2 separate regions of the Homo sapiens genome follow, and region 1 is linked to region 2. Evidence: promoter capture Hi-C in 16 types of primary human blood cells and fetal thymus (Javierre and others, 2016). All regions are on one chromosome and are shown on one strand. Each heading gives the region's core, a stretch centred on a gene start or on the middle of the fragment in contact. The rest is flanking DNA. Distances are from core to core; before and after follow the strand shown.

Region 1 (6,464 bases), core at 2,469-4,968, 320 kb after region 2:
AAAAGCAATGTGCTGGAGAAACATAGGTGAAGAGGAGATGAGTCTTTCAGTGGAGGTAACTGGGGGCTGGGTCTTGCAGGATGAAGAGGTGTTCTTCGGATAGAATAAGCATTCCAGGCAGAGGGAACAGCACATGCAAAAGCTCAGAGGCAAGTGGATGAGTGGCTGGGTAGTGAGAGGGTAGGTAGTGTCCAATTACGAAGGGGCTTGGATGCCTTACTGTGGAACCTAGCTAAGCTCCCCTGAGGGCTGGCATGACAAGAGCTGGGTCCTAGCATCCTCGTTCTGGGGGCCAAAGTGCAGTGAGGAGAGTCCGATTTCTTACCTGAAGAATCCCCAGATGCCCAGGCGATATTGAATGGTCACCACCACCACGTTTTCATGGGCAGCAAGGGCCAGCCCATCATAGGTTGATGCCGCACCCACCATCAGCCCCCCTCCGTGGATCCACACCATCACCTGGGCAGAGAGGAAGCAACATACCAGTTACAGGACACAGAGCCAGGGAGCACTCAGAAGATGTCTTGTTTGGTGACCTACCTGTTGGTTACAACTGAAGGAGGATGCTATCCAAAGTTCACCAGCTCCCAGCAACTTTGCAAAAGGCAATCTCTCTCCTGCATAATTCTCCCAACTGGGACCCAAGCCACCACCCTACTGCACATACCCTGGCTGTCCCTTCCTTTCTACCCAGCCTCCAGTGCCTCCTCCCCGAAAGGCTCTTGATGCTGAGAACATCATCATGGGCATAGCAAAGGCTAAGGATGTCCTCTTCGGGAGGACACTCCCATCACCCTCAAGCCTAGACTATTCATGCACTCAGCGTACCCATGGGGCAGCCCTTGTATCTCAGCTTCATCTCAGTTAACTATCTCTTGGTGAAGTAAACTTCTCTGTGCATGAATGATTGTCTCGAGAAGCACACGTGCCTGTGATGGTGTCTCTTCCTCAAATGCCTCCTTATGCCTCTGCATCCCCAAATCCTATCCACCCTGCAGAACCCAGCCTAAAACCCACCCACTTCAGGATGCCTTCAGTCAATGGACTAACACTGTCGAGAACTTAGCATGTGCCAGGGACTCTGCTAATACTGGAGGATGAGAGTGGATACAATTCCTCATGCATGATTCTTGCATTTTAAAAGTCCACATAGTGGGGAAGAAGTGAGAGTGGCTAAAATAATGATATTGTAATAATATTATTCATGAAATATAAAAGAACTCGTAACATAAACTATGTCCCAAGTGCTGTTCTAAGCACAGTAAAATAAACTATACATTGGGTAGGTACTAATAATGTCCCATTATCCAGGTGGGAAAATGGAGGCACTTAACCTGCCCAAGGTCCTACAACTCAAAAGTGGTAGCAGCAGGACTTTAACCCAGGCAGTCTGCCTCCAGAGTCCACATGTTGAGCTGCCCAGCACACTGCAGGCGCCGGCCACAGTGCAGTGAGTCCACTGTTAGGGCAGGGGTATGAGCCTGCCTCTGCCTTTTTAGCCAGGGACTGAGATCACGCTTAGTGGTCACCCTTGACTGATCATATGTGATGATTCCCATTTTGAGGAAACAGAGGCTTAGAGAAGTTAAGAAACTCCCAAGTCTCTCAGCTAGTCAAAAGCAGAACCAGGATTTAAACCCAGACCGTGTAGTTCTAGAGCCTGTGGCCATTCCTGGAGGTTCTCCTGACTCCAGGTTCCCAGAGCCCTTGTTTCTCCCACAACTCTAATCCCTGCCTGCCTCCTGGGGAGGGATTGAGTGTGCATTCATCTTTGTGTGAAGACTGAGCCTGAGGGCTGGCCTGCAATAAAGTGCTGAAGGGAGGATATGTCTCTACAGCCCAGAAGGCAAGATCCTTGAAGGCAGGGGCTGTGTGGAGTGGATTCATGTTCCTCCTTTCCCTGAAGCCCCAGGTCTAACTGTGTATATGGGGCACTGAGTACACAATAGAAGAATGAATGAATGAATGAATGAATGAATGAATGAATGAGTAAACCTTTCTCTCACTTCCTGTGTCTCACAAAGCACATGTAGGACCAACTTCTAGTTCCACGTTCGCAGACCTGCTCCCCCACTCCTAGGCACCATGCCACGGTGCCCCTGGGAGACTGGCTAGACACAACACCCCTTGTTTTTTCACCCTGGGTGCCTCCTTTGCCAGCAGACCCTCCCCACCCTCCAACCTGCAGCTGGCGGGCTGCCCCATGTCCTGCCCTTCATTTATTTGGGAAATTCTGACTCACTGGGTCATCAGCCTTTGCCAAGACAATTAGGGAGGGAAATTAGGTACAAAAAGAAATCCCAGCTATTTGGCCAAAGGCAAAAGGAAGAGCTTCTGGGATTGTCCAGGCTCCGCCCCCAACATCCGTACCTGGACAGTGAAAGTTACCCCAGATGAATGTTGCTGTGCTGGAGAAAGGCCACATACAAGCTCAATGCCCTACTCCATGTCAAAAGCACTGATGTGAAGATCAGAAGACTTGAGCCAAAACTACCCTACTGGGTGACCTCCCCTTCCCTGTCTGGGCCTCAGTTTCTCTATTTGAAAAGGAAGAGTTGGGGTGTTGGCTTTTCTCTAAGTTCTTTCCACCACTAACATTGAAAATCATGTCTTACCCAATCTTGGTATCAGATTTTTAATCTAGTAACTAAAAGTAATCATTCTCATCCTTCTATTAGCATGAGGGAACTTGGAACAATTAAGATGTTCATTAAAGATGCAAAACAAACTCCCCCAGAGTGCCTATGTCACGAGGGTAAACTGATGTGTGGAAAACCAGTGTTTCCTGTGGAGGCCCTGGGGTCTCTGAAACAATCCTGGCCTGTGCAGCTCCCTCCCCAAGCTGCCTTCACTCCCTTCCATTCTGCCCCAGAAGATGCGGGGTACTGGCACTGACACGCCTTGACCAGGGGGTCCCACAACTTACCGGCAGCCTGTTTTTCTTGGTCAAGTCAGCAGGAGTGTAAATATTGAGGTAAAGACAGTCTTCAGAAAGCTTGAGAGGAATGTTCTCCTTTCGGTTTGTAAATAGCTCTGAGAGTAACTGCCCCGCCTTGGGATCTTGGGTGCACCTGGGGAGGGGGAAAGAAGAACCCCTGAAGTTCAGCCAGATCTAAGCGAGGTGTTTTCTACGGCAGCGCCTTGGACTGGGAGGTTTAAGCCTGGAAATGGACTTGATAGTTACAGACTCACGACATTGTAGTGGGTAGGAGGCTATCAGGGGCTTCAGGTGGGGGCGCTGGGACTCACTAAGGTCTCCTAAGACCAAGCAGAGTGAGAAGGGCTTCACACCTCTTCCCTTTCCAGAGCCTTTGGAACTCCCAGCATCAAGGAGGGGAGACCACTAATACACTGATCCTCCCTGGGAGGTGACATTTCTCACAATAGCTCAGGGGTGATATCTTTGTGGGACAACATCAGGAGAATTGTGCTCTAGTTTTGTCTCTCCCATGCATTTATGGGGTGACCTTGGGTGAATTCCTTTTACACTCTGCGTCCCAATCCGCCAGGTCTAAGTGAGCGGAGTGATTTCTACATGAGTCTTGCAGCCCTGACATGCCAAGATTCTACCACCTGCCTCTCCCAGGCAGTTGCTGTTGTGTTGCCCTGATGAAAGATCTCAAGGATGCAACATAGATGAACACTGGTAATAGTTATTTAGTTCTCCCAGTGTTCCAGGCACTGTTTTAAGTACCTTTTGTATATTAACTCATTTAAGCCTCAGACTAGTCCCATTAGGTAGGTTCTATTATCTCCATTTTACAGATGAGAAAACTGAAGCCTAGGCAGGTTAGAGAACCTGACCAAGGTTACATAGCCAGGTAGATCCATGCCATGTGGTGCTTATACACAAGTATATTATAAGCAACAGTCCCAGACCTCAATGTACCAAAAGGCAGTCATCACCGCCCCCACTAGGTACATGAGGAAACTGAGGCACTCAGACTCTGGGATGACACAGCTCTCAAGTGACAGAATCAGAGCCAGCAAAGATGACTTCTTGATTCCATCCTGGGAAATTTTCCTAAGATCACCAAGTGCAAGAGGAATAACAATAATAATAATAATAATAATAATAATAATACATTCCAATGTGAAGAAAGGAAAAAAGAACTCACTGGTCTTCAGATAAATGCAAATTAAAGAGGAAAATAATATTGCTGGTATTGTTATTATTATTTTGCCTATACAATAGCCAAAAATATTTTTAATAATCCCAAGCATTGCCAAGAGTCTGCCAAATGGAGATGTTCATACGTCAATGGGAGGAGTGTAGTTGGAATATTTTGGGAGGGAAATCAAACAAGAAATATATACTCTTTGACTCAGAAATGTCATTTCTGAGAAGTTATCCTAAACTATTCATGAATGTGCATAAATGTTTCACATTCATGATGTTATATTATTAAAAACATCATATATAACTTAATGACCCCAAATAAAAGCTTGGGGAAATTAATTATGGTTCAATACCCAATGTAATGCAGCTTTTAATACCAGGCTGTGCTATTTAATGGCATGGAATTATGCTCATGATATACTTATAAATGAGCAAAGCAGGCATCCAAATTATCTCAATATAGCATTCCCTTTTAAAGAAAGAAAGTATATCAACAGGCAAAAAAACTGGAATACAAACAATATATTACATCATAATACTTTACCATCTAAAATACTGATAGTTGTTCTCTCTGGGTGGTGGAATATTGTATGTGATCTTAATTTTCTTACTTTCCTTTCTCTGTATTTCCTAAATTTTCTGTAATAAGTATATATTACATTTGCACTCAGAAAATAAAAACAGTAAACATTATTTTTTAAAAAAGGGAAGAAAAGAAGGCGGCCACTGGTGGGCTGCTGGAAAGCCTCCGAACACCTGGCTGCTGAGATGAGCAGGGTCTGCTCTGATGTCTGTAGGGTCCTTCCTACCCTGGGGAGTGATGGTGAGGCCAATTAGAACCTTTGGGCTTTTCTTCCCAGCTTGGCCAGGGTGAATGGACACACCTTCCATTGTTCTCCTCAGGAATAGGCACACCTGAGAGTTGAGCACTTGCCGAGTGGACACCTCAGTACACTTGCCACCCACACACCTCCTGGCCCACTCCTCTCCCCGACTATGTCAAAATTCAAGACAGCAGAATTCATGGGATCCTTCCTTCTGATCTCCCTCACCTGCTTAACTGCTTCTTTGTTTCCAAGGCACTTTTCCTGTTCTATCATATCACATAATCCACGGAGTAATTTGCATATTGTTCTTATCTGTCTCCCCCTGCTAGAATGCACGCTCCAGGAACCTAGGGATCTTTGCTTTTTCACTAATGGATCCCAAGAACCCAGAACACGCCTGGCACACAGCAGGTGCTCAATAAACATGTGTTAAATAATGGACTCCAGAATGCTGTGAGAGTTCTGGAATGTTCTTAAGGATCTACAAAGATCTTAAGGAGTCCAGAGCAAAGGATCAGCCCGTCAGGGGACTGCCTTGACTCCTTCCTGCATCACTTTGAGGTAAACATCCCCAAGGACACATGCCGCAGCTTACATAGGAGGGTACGAGGTGGCATTCTTCACAAAGCTCCATGGTTCTGCAGGCTGCGGTGGAGTAAACCTCAGGGGTCCAAGAGGCGGCTTGGCAAAAGGGATTCCCAGGAAAATGGCCACAGGCTGTGCAAATCCTTCTAAGCTGACGAACTTCCCCAGCACTTTGCCATGCACGGTGTCCACCACAGGTGGCGAGGACGGATGCCCTGCTGGACATGGAGAATAAATCAGGATGCATCAGAGGCAAAAGGCTGGACCCAGATTCCAGGTGGAGTTTGCCGCTTTCTAAGTGAGTGACCTTAAATAAGTCACCTAAACCCTCTAGGCCTCAGTTTCTCTTGATGTACAATAGGGATGACGATCAATGTCCTCCCTAACCCATTGAGCTGGTTTAATGGGCAAACTAGAATTGGAGGCATAAAAACATCCAGCTAAAAATAAATGCAAGAAGGAGAGCTACTAGGAAAGAACAAGACATTTAGCTTCCCCCTTAGAAGTCTCTGGAAACATTTATCCATTAGAATCCTGGCACTGAGCCGCATGCTGGATGAGAGGATGAAAAAGGGGTGTCCCATATTCTCACAAGCACTGACCATTATAGGGAAGGGTCACATATACACCTGGGGCTACAGCTGGGAAGGAAGTGGCCATGTCCTGGGAGAGGTACCCATAAGGCAGTCTAGGAATTAGAAGAGGGGGCAAGGCCTTCTGATTGCGGGCATCATGGAGGAGCTGGGACTTGCGGCAGGGGAGGACTGAATGAGGGGAGATGAGAAGCAGAGAGTGGTACACAGCAGAGAGAAGGGAATTTGCTGAGGCTCAGAGCAGCAGAATGCAGAGCCTGCCTGGGGAAGGGGGCATGGCCCACATGCACCAGGTGGAGTCTGGGGGGAGTGGAAAATATTCCTGGAATGAGACCGCAC
Region 2 (6,900 bases), core at 1,294-3,793:
AGTTTTAATGCTACTACTAACAATGAACAGTAACAATAATATCCCCCTCAATTAATAGAGTGCTTTCTATGTGCAAGGCACTTTTCACGTGTCACCTATTTTAACCTTTCCAACCACATAAATAAAAAAGGCCATTATTAGTTGAATCTTATTGATGAAGAGACTGATGGCTCAAGAGAAGTGATTTTTCCAGGGTCCCATAGCTATTAGGGACCTACAAGGCCAAAGGATAGCCTAGCAGAGGAGCTTTAGCTCTCAAACCAGAATCTCACCACCCTCCGCCACCCTCAAAAACACCCCCACCACCTTCAAAACCGCTCCTGCTACCCTCCACCACCCCCAAAACCACGCTGGGTAAACACAGCTAAGGGAGAAATACTGTGCTTGCTTCTAAACACAGCTGGTATTAATGGATAAGCTCCTTACTCCTTCCTACCAGTCTACCCACTCCTAATCTCCTACATAGAAATTCTGGAGCTACTGCTGAACAGAAATTGAAGGCCTGGGGTTTTTCTGAGGCCCTTTCTGGCTCCGATAGTCTGATTGATAGTATATATATTGCTTCTGGCCTCTTATGATGGGGCTGGTGAGGAAGGTGCGTAAGGAGTGAACTCTACAGGTGACCTCCTCAGTGAGCCTGATGTCATTGTTTCTATCTCTTTTTTCTGTTTTTGAGATGGAGTCTCACTCTGTCACCCAGGCTGGAGTGCAATGGCGCAATCTCGGCTCACTGTAACCTCTGCCTCCCAGGTTTAAGTGATTCTCCTGCCTCAGCCTCCCAAGTAGCTGGGATTACAGGTGCACGCCACCATACCCAGCTAATTTGTTTTGTATTTTGGTAGAGACAGGTATCACCGTGTTGCCCAGGCTGGTCTCGAACTCCTGAGATCAGGCAATCCACCCATCTCGGCCTCCCAAAGTGCTAGGATTATTGGTGTGAGCCACCACTCTCGGCCCCATCTTTTCTATCTTTTATCCTCCCATGGCCTGTCCCCTTGACTCAGATTCTTTTTGTTTCTTCTTCTTCTTTTTTTTTCTTTTTTGAGACAGTGTCTTTCTCTGTCACCCAGGCTGGAGTGCAATGGCATGATCATAGCTCACTGCAGACTTGATCTTCTGGGCTCAAGCAATCCTCCCACTTCAGCCTCCTGAGTAGCTGGGACTGCAGGCATGCAACAGCACAGCCAGCTAATTTTTAATTTTTTTTAGAGATGGTGGAGTCTCTCTTTGTTGCCCAGGCTGGTCTCGAACTCCTGGGCTCAAGGGATCCACCCTCCTCAGCCCCCAAAGTGCTAGGATTACAGGCGTGAGCCACTGCACCTGGCCTGGCTTAGGTTGTTGACAGTTGGAAAGACATCTTTCTGTGCAGGTATCTGGCTAAAGAGTCTCAAGGGTCTGCCAGTCCCAACTTGAAGACCCCCTAGACTGGGGAATCTTCTATCATGGCTGTAATGCACTGTTATTAATGTTCCCTGTTACACTGAGAGAAAAGTCAGTGGCTCCACAACATAATAATGCTTAAAACATGCCATTTCTTCAGTGTTTCTCTATGAACACTACACATGCATTATTTTATTTAATCCTTGCTACAATTCTATGGAGTTAGAATGAATCTCCCATTCCTAGACAAGGAAGCAAACTCAGGTTAAGTGACTGACTCAAGGCCACACATCTATGTGGTAGGGCTGGAAGATTCTGACATTCAGAGGGTAACTTTGGAGAACCCCAGGGCTCAGACTCAGATTTTCATCCTGGCCTTCCTACCTGCTGTGAGAAGAGTTGATCAGTTGGGATGAGTTGATTATCATCTCCTTCCTTTAACTCTCAGCCACTCAGGGTTGATCAACTGTCCTCAGATAATGGGACAAACCCCTGCCCTCCCACCCCCACGAGCACCCACATAGGTCCAAACAGGCTTGAACTTCCTCAGTGTGAAAGGGAGCCACAGCCCAATACATTTCCCTTTTCTGGGTCAGGTTCCTCATCTAGCGTGGAGGGCAACTGTAATTTTTGCCTTTTCTGGTAATAGTAGCTCAGTTTTCCTCTGGAGAACCATCTCTCCCCTGTCAGTCCATTATGTTTTGAGTGAAACAAATTCCACTCCTAGTGCCATCATGGGTGTATTAATATTAGCTCACTTAATGGAACAGCCCAGGGGAAGTGGTTGCTCAATGGCATTACTGGATCCAGGTTAGGATTATCTGAGAATACATTTATCTGCATTTTACGGAAGGCAACCGAGGTTCATAGAGATAGTGATTTGGCCAGCGTCACAGGCCCAGTAAAAGGGATTGAAAATCCAGGTCCGTCCGACCCTAAAGCAGGGAACTCTGCCTAGTGTCTCGCTGTGGAATGTTAGGGATCCTGGGGTACCCTTCAGGGTCTTGGCTCGGAAGGAAAACATTCCCCTCCGAGGGGATGGACTATATTACCAAGGGGGTGGAGCCAGATGCCTGAGGGGGTGTGGCCAGAGCCTGGGGCGTGTCACAGCCGAAGGGGCAGGGCGGCAGCAGCAGGCGTCTAAGTAACTTCAGCGCCTGCGCAGAGGCTCCCCAGCGTCGCCCTAGGCTGGGACTCTAGTAGGTCTTCGGCTCAGTTTTGGCTGCAGCGCCCGCGTAGATCGCTTCGGCCGGGTTCTACGCCCGGCTCAACTATGAGCCGGTGCGCCCAGGCGGCGGAAGTGGCGGCCACAGTGCCAGGTGCCGGCGTCGGGAACGTGGGGCTGCGGCCGCCCATGGTGCCCCGTCAGGCGTCCTTCTTCCCGCCGCCGGTGCCGAACCCCTTCGTGCAGCAGACGCAGATCGGCTCCGCGAGGCGGGTCCAGGTGAGGGGCGTGGGTCTGAGGGGAGAGGTGGTCTGAGGGGGGCCTAGGTCAGAGGGGGGTCCAGGTAAGGGGTGTGGGTCTGAGAGAGGAGGGCGGCCGAGGGGGGCGTGGGTCTGAGGGAGTGAGGTGGTCCGAGGCGGGCGAGAGTCTGAGGAGGGAGGTGGCCTGAAGGGGGCATGGGTCTGAGGAGGGAGGTGGCCCGAGGGGAGCCAGGGTCTGGGGCGGGTCCAGGTGACTGGTGTAGGTCTGACGGGGGAGGGCGGTCGAGGGGCGCGTGGGTCTGAGGGGCGTTGTGGGTCTGGGAAGCAAAGGCATCAGAGGAAGAAAGAGCAGTGGATCTGAGAGGAGAGGACTTCTGAGGGGCCGTGAGCCTGAAAGGGGCGGAGATGTGTGTCTGAGAATTGAGGACATTTAGAGGATGGTCTGAGCGGGCACGGGAGGAGAGAAGATGCTGGGAAGATGCGGGCCTGAGAGGAGAATCCAAAACAGGAAGAGACTGAGCTGGCTGGTGGCGCAGGCTACATTCCATGCCCCAGAAGGTTGAAGGAATCTGTGAATCTGTGACAGAAGCTTCAACTTGAGTTTATGAGAGTGTAGTGGGAGGCAGATCTACTACGGGAGAGTAGATTTGAAGAAGTCTTTTTTTTTTTTTTTTTGCCTTAGGAAGGAGAGGAGTCAGTATGGGATGGATAAGAGTGAGGCAGAAGGCAGAGAGCCTAGGTCTGTGGTTAGAACAACAGGTAAGGCTGGAAAGATTTAGCTGAGCAGGAGCATGATGGAGGGTGGGAAGTCAGAATCAAAGAAAAGGGACAACTGAGTCAGCTTAGGATGTTCAAGAAGTTTTGGTCCAGAATCAGTCTTCACCTAAAAACGTTTCCTAAGTTGAAGCATGAGAAGTAGTAGCCCAGGCTGTTTTCCATTGTTAAAAATGGCTATACTGTTATGCACAAAGGAAGTTTCCTTTCCTTTCCTTTTTCTTGTAAAGGGTTCCTTTTACCATTGGCAGTTGCACTCTTTGGACTTCCTCTTTGTTGAAGTTAGTGATCAGAGAACAAGATAGACCCTGCTAACCACATTTGTCCGTGTGTTCTGCGGGGGTTGGGGGGGTGGGGGAACAATTTTGAAGTTTTCATGTCCATCTCACACATTACTTTGGATTTGAAGCAGTATAATATTTGCAATCAGCTTGTATGCACTAAGACCATTGTCCTCTACAGTGGGGGAAGGTTAAGTGCAGAGCTAAACAACACAGGTGGTGGCTTGAGTAATGGTAGATGGGTGTCTGGTTGAAGAGGGGTGTGAGAGAGGAAGAAGATAAAGAATGTAGTAATACTGCTTTGTGAGGAAATTAAACGTTTAAAAATGTGATCCTCATGTCTTTAAATTAATAGATATTCTTTTTGTGTCTTCACATTCTGAAACATTTGTAAATACATAGACCATTGTTCAAGATTAAATTTAGTCTGATTTAATTAAATCATACTTAAATGAAAATATGCCCATCTATTTGACTTCATATTTTGGAAAGAAACAGCATGGAATGTTGACAAATATTTATATTGCACCTATAATAAATTATTAAGTTTTTCCATCACCTGGTTTGTTACTGTTTAAAGATCTCTTCCAAATAACTCTCTGAGAGTTATAGTATAATGGAATGATAGCTAGTCAGTTATAGGAACTGGTCATTTATTAGTTGTATGACTTTGGCCAAGTCACTTAACCTCTCTGAACTATACTTTTCTCGTCTATTACATTGGAATATTAATAACTCAAAGGAGGGCTACAATTAAGTGAAATAATCTGTTATTGTTTGTTGATCTTAATATTGATAATATTGATAGTTATCCTATATATTTTCTACAAAGTATATACTGTACTTAAAATTTACTACTTGGATTAAATGGGATTTAACAAAGTCTGGATATTAAAAATACTTTTTAAATTTATATAGATCAGAGATACAAGAGGTTTCAGTGGCTTGAATCATCTGGGTAAAGGGAAGATTTGAATAGGCATGGTAGAAAAACAATGTCCATATTATCCAGTTTAAAAGGTGGACACACTTTCATTTAAGTATGACTTAGTATGATTAATTTAGACTAAGTTTAATCTTAAATGATGATCAATGTCTTGCTTAAGGACTGTTGTCCTCACATTTCACTAAGATAGTTAAACAAACAAGTACAAAAATATATAATCTCATGTTTTAGTAAGTGTAATGAAGGAAAACCAGAGAATAACACTGAGAGAAGGCCACCCAATGGAGATGACATATTACCAAATGGAAATATGATGAATTCTCTTAATTTGTCAATGAGTTAACTCAAAATTGATTTACTGTTAGACACTATTATTTGTTGCAAACCTTGAAGATGGCACAGAAAAAAAAGTTGCCTAATATTTTGCAACTTGTTCAATTAAAATCCATATGGGTTGCTCAGTGTAGACATGAGTGACTCTTATGCTAATATACTTTAAACTCATTCCAACTCTTTCTTCAGGGTCTATGCTATATGGTCCTTTCTTTCAGTCAAGATTATTGCTTGTTTTTTAATAATGATACCTCTTTGAAGAGAATCTCAGCCAGTGACCTACCAGAGTGACTTGGGAATTTGAGTCGTCTCATCTTCTCCACAGTACTCTTCCCCAGTATACCACCATACTTCATTGCACCACCATTCAAATAAATATAACATTAGCTAAAAATAGTGTGCTTACCATGTACACAGAGCTTCAAGAAAAATCTCCTGGATCCAAGATCCCTTCTATATTATAGTTCTGAAACTCCTACTCATCTTACCTAATACGTATTCTGTTTTATAGGAAATAAGACTGATAGCATAAGTTTCATTATATTTGTAAGTCAGTTTTCAAGTGAATAATAATAATTTAACAGGACTAGTTTTAGTCTCAGGAATGGTGGAGTAGCTCAATGTAGACAATGTAGACAAACAATTATAAACCCTAGTCAAAATATGAAAAACTACACGAAGGCACTATAGAGCAACACAAATCAGACAGAAACTGGAGGGATTTGTTTCTTGAAATAATACTTCTATACTGTGTAACATTACCCCAGCCCCTTTTTTTCCCTGAAGGTTATCACTTGACACCACATGAAGGGATTGCTAGAAAGCCTCAGCCTTATTGATTGACATGATATATCAGAGCACAAAGTTCAAGACTATCAAAGTGACTAAAAATCGAAGGTGGAAGTCCCAGAAAGGAGGAAACTAGAAATGAGGGAGCCCCTAAATTGGCATATAAATGATCTCAAAACCTTGGCCGATTCCTGAGCTGTGTATTTACAAAGGAGCCTTCAAGGACTCTGGAGGAAAGTAACAGCTGGAAGGAAGAAGAAACTGAGCAGACATTTCAACTGATAGACACCACAGGGAAGGCACAGTTAGAATCCCACCAATTAAGGGGGCCTTGGCAAACATCTCAGGCTTTACACTGAAACCTCACAAAGGTGATACCATAGGAGAAAAGCTAGTCCTATACCCTAGGACTAAGGCTTCAGTCTAAGACTAAGGGCTAGCTTCAAACAAATTTTCCCTAAAAAAGTATAAAACTAAGCCTTCACAAAGTGAATGCAATCAGCCAGAATTTTACCTACCTGCCAGGACAGAAATCAACATTCTTTAGAAAAGGATAACAGAATCCAGAATATCTGTAATATATCACCCAAAATGGCCAAAATACTATAAAAACTGTACTAGACATTCAAAGAAATAGGAAAATGTGACCTGTGATCAAAAGAAAAATCAGGCAATAAAAACAGACCCTAAGATGATCAAATGTAGGACTTCGCAGAAAAATACTTGAAAGGAGCTATTATAAAAATGCTCAAGGACTTAAAAGTAAAGAATGGCATAATGAATGAATAGTTGGAAGGAGCTTAGCAGAGAAATAGAAAATGTAAAAGAGAACCAAATGGGCATTCAAAACTGAAAACTGTTATATCTGAAATGAAAAATTCACTGGATGGGCTCAACAACACATTGAAGATGGTAGAAGAAGGTGTTAGTGAACTTGAAGATAGGTCACTAGAAATTATTCAGTCTAAAAAG

What was found. The method cuts DNA at HindIII sites, captures the fragments that hold promoters and counts their contacts. A CHiCAGO score of 5 or more calls a contact.
Region 1: a fragment that was not itself captured here is called in contact with the fragment with the promoter of LPCAT2 in region 2 in 1 of 17 cell types (monocytes); the score reaches 6.1 in monocytes.

What each region holds. Positions count from the first base shown.
Region 1 is chr16:55,823,225-55,829,688 of GRCh38, forward strand. It overlaps CES1 (carboxylesterase 1), which reads right to left. Exons shown (of 14, transcript NM_001025195.2): 2 at 5,543-5,750; 3 at 2,927-3,071; 4 at 326-459. Among named protein-coding and RNA genes, the nearest start is that of CES1, 6.6 kb to the right of the region's middle. The HindIII fragment of the contact is 1,450 bases long and covers 2,994-4,443 here.
Region 2 is chr16:55,506,529-55,513,428 of GRCh38, forward strand. It overlaps LPCAT2 (lysophosphatidylcholine acyltransferase 2), which reads left to right and starts at 2,544. Exons shown (of 14, transcript NM_017839.5): 1 at 2,544-2,824. The coding sequence starts at 2,654. It overlaps MMP2 (matrix metallopeptidase 2), which reads left to right. Exons shown (of 13, transcript NM_004530.6): 13 at 1-163. The HindIII fragment of the contact is 4,685 bases long and covers 1-3,392 here.